2 separate regions of the Homo sapiens genome follow, and region 2 is linked to region 1. The links are contacts of gene promoters, found by promoter capture Hi-C in blood cells and fetal thymus (Javierre and others, 2016). All regions are on one chromosome and are shown on one strand. Each heading gives the region's core, a stretch centred on a gene start or on the middle of the fragment in contact. The rest is flanking DNA. Distances are from core to core; before and after follow the strand shown. Region 1 holds the start of LINC00158 (long intergenic non-protein coding RNA 158). Region 2 overlaps GABPA (GA binding protein transcription factor subunit alpha).

What was found. The method cuts DNA at HindIII sites, captures the fragments that hold promoters and counts their contacts. A CHiCAGO score of 5 or more calls a contact.
Region 2: a contact is called between a fragment that was not itself captured here and the fragment with the promoter of LINC00158 in region 1, in 1 of 17 cell types (M0 macrophages). The highest score is 5.4, in M0 macrophages.

The regions. Positions count from the first base shown.
Region 1 is chr21:25,430,364-25,433,001 of GRCh38, forward strand. LINC00158 (long intergenic non-protein coding RNA 158) reads right to left here and starts at 1,338. Exons shown (of 5, transcript NR_024027.2): 1 at 815-1,338. The HindIII fragment of the contact is 1,417 bases long and covers 1,324-2,638 here.
Region 2 is chr21:25,736,335-25,738,972 of GRCh38, forward strand. All of the region lies in intron 1 of GABPA (GA binding protein transcription factor subunit alpha), which reads left to right. Among named protein-coding and RNA genes, the nearest start is that of GABPA, 2.7 kb to the left of the region's middle. The HindIII fragment of the contact is 2,283 bases long and covers 157-2,439 here.

The sequences.
Region 1 (2,638 bases), core at 88-2,587:
CTTTCTTTCATTGTAACCTGCTCGGTTTATTACTAACAGGTTTACCAGTATCATTAGAATCTCAGTCACTTAAAGGTAAATAATGGTATCTGGAAGCAGTAGAATATATTAATTAAGAGAAGCAGATTTGGAACAAAATAAACTTGGATTTGACTCCCGAAACATCCACTTACTTAATAATTGTTTATGTGCAGAGGGGGCCAGGTAGGTTCATGTCTCTGAACTCTAGCCTCTGTATCTATAAAATATACCCGATCATACCTTCTTCTGAGTGTTTTTTTTTTTTTAGGATTAAAATGAAATAGTACATAGTAAGACCTTGACATAGTACTTGAAGCATGTTAAAATGATATTGTCTTATCCCATTTTGCCCAACATGTAGCCACCTAGCTACTACATCGTAAGTATTTAGAAAGTACATACATTTGTTACCAGTGCCCCATGATAGCAGTGCCTGATGAAGTCATAATGCAATGGAGAGCAAATAGAACAAGTGGAGTCTTCTGAATCCTAATGCACTTTACTGATTCTAGAAAGAATAAATGAGAGGCTATGCAAAATCTCAAGCTCAGCTAAGGAATATATTTTGTTGAAGGTTTGTGCTTCCATTTTATGGTGATTGGAAAGGGACTGAGCTAGAAAGAAACTGAGCTAGAAAGGAGCTCAGTTCCTCTCCAATCATCACAAAAATTTACATTCCATAGTATGCAACATCTTGTCAGGAAAAACAAATATAATCCTTCACATGCAATCTTTGCTCACAATTATGAGATACTGTCTTTATGGGTCTAAATCAGAAATACTGTCTTCTTACAGACTCTTGATGTGATCTGTGCTCATCCTTAATCCTTGGTAAAGTTCCAAAATGGCTCTGGATCCTACTGACATCTGTTACTAAGGATAATGCATGAAGGAGATGAAGATATCTGTTCTCAATAAACAGAGAAAACATTACTAAAGAAAATGTAGATCAATTTCAGATCTCCTTATCCATAGATAAGGAAATGCAAGTTATTAGAGACCTATGAAAAATTGCTGTTCAGACATAAAGATGCATCTTTTTATTTCAGATCTTTACCACTTAAGTTTAGCCTAGTATTTTTTAAGGCCAATGAAACAGTTGGTGAAAAAGAATAAATGCATTTGTGATCTCCAGTGTGTTCTCTCCATTCTAGCAAAAAAAAAAAAATTCCAAAAACACTTGTTCATACAGCTACAAGTTTGAGGCTTTTCATAGGAAATAAGATTTGAGGTCTAGACTAATTGATTTTATAGCTTCACAACTGAATTTTGTAATGTAGCCACAGGTCCATACACAGCAGAAGCTTAGATTAATCCTTTCCAAAAATAAAAGGAAAAAATCCATGTGAATCACTTCTAAATGCCTCTGTATTGCAAATGAATGATGTTTGGGTGTGCATTTATACTACTTGTCTAAGATAAGACCTATTTAACAAGATATAGTTTATACCTCATTAAAGCAACATCTACTTCTCTTGCTTGGTTACTGGTCTTTCACAGCCAGTCCAATTGGCCAATATAAAATACACTTCCATTCTGAAACCTAAGTTCCACAAGAGAAAGAACATTTTTCTTTTTAAGTAGATGTATTTCATTATCTTTAAGAGTTTATATTATATACATGACATTACCCCCATTTAATTTTTGTGCTGGTCAGGGATTATTCAGTGATGAAAAAAGTTTTCCCAAATGAGGGCAAATAAAAACATTTTTGCTGGAAGACTATAAAGGACAACTTCATAGACATTCAAAAGTGAAAAATAAAATACACCCAGACCTCTTATAAATATATTGGGAACTGGAAAATCAGAAACTGAGATCATCTCTCTTAATTCACATGATTTCTCATCTCCTTCTCACTAGTACACTTTACCTCCTGATTTCTGGTCCAATCCATTGAACCCATTTTTTTCACTCAATGTGAGTAAATGTCATATAAAAGGTTGCAGGAAGATGCTGCTTCAGGCCATTTTCTCTAAAAGAGACTTGTAAGTACAGAGGTCATTGAAGTTTCATGAACTTCTTTATCCTTTTTGATCAAGTAGCAGATTACCTCTAACTAGTCCACAGCTTCCACATGGAAGATGGACAAACATATAGAAATGGGGAAGAAAGAAGAACCAACACACTTGTCAGCAAATTCAACCTAAGTCAGCCTCTTTTCAATGGGCTCATGGGAAATGAAGCATTTCCTGGGACACAGAGGAGGGAGAGAAAAATCTCCCATTATTGGGGATTGAACCATAAGAAAATGTTGTTTCATGGCCCCAAATGGCCAAATACCAACATATTATGTGATCCAACTAAATCACAATGGTATAATCAAACAAGTTATTCTGATTATTACCAATAGAGACACTAAAATTTTGGCTGTGTATTAAACCCTCTTGCTTTTCACATCTTCTCAATGTATTTATTTTATAGCACATCTGGAACAATCCTTTTATTTATTAATGAAGATCGTCTCAATTGCCAAAGTCTATATTTTTCTTCCACTTAATGAAAAATATCCAAAGTTGCTGGTTATGGGCCCATCAGAGATTATTTTCTCTTAATCATATTTCATTTAAAAAAAACTAGTCAGTTCATTTTTCTAAAAAAAAAATGCATGTTCAGA
Region 2 (2,638 bases), core at 48-2,547, 310 kb after region 1:
CAAAGATTTAGCAGGATTCACTTGAGCGAATTGTAGAACGAGGCGGTGATAACATTCTTCGGTAGTGTTATCTTGAACTTCAGAAGAAACCGCTCAACTCTTTAGCAACTGCTTGAGGGACTAGCCTGTCTCTCAGGGTTCCATCCAGGCTTTCCAAGCTTCTTTATTTTTAGACATACAGTGACGCTGAGTGGACTTCAAGTCAATTTTACCTGAATTGTGTATACAAGAGCATCTGTCATGAGGCATGTATAGTAATGAAGTAATTAAATCATGAGCTAGATGTTAGGTTGAAGCAAATCATCAGACCGAGTACTAAATTAAAACTGTTGACTTTAGCCTTCCCTCAACTCTTTATATATAAAACTCCAAACCTACAGAAGAATTGGGGAAAAAATCATGCAGTGAACACGCAGATACCCTTCACCTGAGGGTCCCAACTGTTAATCTTTCACTGTATGTGCTTTCTCTTTTTATATTACATAGATATGTATGCTTTGCTTTTTCTTAACTGCTACCTTTATTTTTGAAAATAAAAATGTCTTTTAATTTCCTCAGACACAGAAAAGCATTTGATAACTTAGGAAAATGTGCAGTTAATCTCGCAGGTACCCCCACACTCCACTTATAATATATTGGGAACAAAATGTTCTAAGCTCTGTAATAATGCTCTCCAATGAAGGACAATTCTCAAATTTATCTGTAGTTTCAAAAGGGAATGTTACACCTATCTGTATTTTAAAAGACACTAGCCGTTCCCAGAATTTTTCGTTAAATTCAAGTTTAGTTTGTATCCCATCTTGTGAAACATTCCGAACCCCAGGTTGGATTTAATCCAGCAGAACCAGAGTGTCAAAGTATATGAAATTGTTCTGTGCAGTTCTGGCGGGGGCAGCCCTTAGACGGAGAAACTGCAAGTAATTTTCTCTCAGTTTTCCTAAGTATTGACATAGAAGCCTGAGGAATTGGTTTCAGAAAAAGAGATAAGACTCACTCAAAAACTGATATGAAAGATTTGGACTATTTCTCAAATCTCTGTTTTGCTTCTCTGGACTAAGCATAGAGAACCAGGAGAGAAAGAAAGATTTAAGAGACTGAGTAATATTTTTTGACAGATCATTTAAGAAACTGAGTAATTTTTTTTTTCTCCAAAAGGGCATGGGTTTTTGTTTTGTTTTGTTTTTTCTCTATTTGGCACTTTCTAGGGATTGGTCTATAAATTTTTTGAAAGATCATAGGATAAATTTCTTTGTAGCAACTTCCTATTTTAGTGTTTATGTTAGGGGAGCCCCAGGTGTCCCTGCTGATACGCCATTAGGGCCACTTCTCAGCCTCTGGCTACATCATAATGCTTTTTTTTCTATCTTGCCAAAGTTTCCAGAAAATTTATGTTTTCTAATTTTAAAAAAATTGGTTGTGGAGATGGGAGTGGACCTCTTTATAAGCCCTGAAAATAAGTGATTTTTTTTAAGTGCTATTCTGCTATAAACCTGATTCTCACTTTTTTCTGTAGACAACAGTTTTTTATAATATATCTATTTTGTGTGGACATTATTTCCTTTTAACCAATACTGAAATTCCATAGTGTATACTTTCTCCACATTTTCTTTGATTAATACTTTCTTAAAATAGACACTTGGATTGGCACCAGCTGTCACCAATAAAGCTGCCCTGAACATTGTCAATCAATCCTGTTAACCAATTTGAGAATTTTTCTGGAATGCTTAGTTAGGGATGAAATTGCTGGGTTATAGGTATGAGTATGCTTGATATACTTTTCTCCAGAATGTCTACACCTGTGTGTACACCACATCTCCAGAGATAGGGGAATCTTATGTCCCTGCTAACTGCTCTCGTTATTTAATTTTCTGACATTTGCCGCCGCCGCCGCCCCCTGCCCCCAACACACACATGGTATAAAGTGGTAGTTTCTTGTTTTAAATTGAACTTTTGAATGATTTGAATTTGGGCATTTCTTTGTATCCTGAGTTATTTTGGTTTCCCGTTATGTGAATATCCTTTTCCTATGCTTTAACTACTTTTCTAATTTGTCCCTTTTTTTGGTTATCAAATTCCAGGCCATTGTCTATTCCATCGTCACTTTTGGGTATTGGAAACATCTTTCCATTCTGTAGCCTGTCTGTTGAACATAAATCTTGATTTTTATGTAATCAGATTTTTCTCCTTACGGTTATGTTCTTGGAATTTTATTTAAGAAATCTTTTTCTATCCTGAGACCACAAAAATGTCCCCACCATTTTCTTCTGTTTCATAGTTTTGCCTTGTATGTTTAATCCTTTAAGGCATGTGTAGTTCATTTTATATGGTGTGAAATAGTTCTTATTCATTTATTCAACACATATTGGTGGAGTGCCTGCTGAAGGTAGTACTCTTCAGAGTACTTTGTATATATTTGTGAACACATATTCTTGCCCTGGAAGCTTATGTTGTCCTTCAAGGTAGATCCCTACTCGGTTTCCACCTGTTTTCTTCAGCCCTCAGGATGAATTCCACAATTTTACACATAGCACCAGTTAAGGAATAGGCTTTATTGGAGAAAAGGAAGGCTTATTAGACCAGCATCAGCAAGAAAAAAAAAAACCAAAAACAGAGGGTCTTCATTTCTTCATCATCCCCA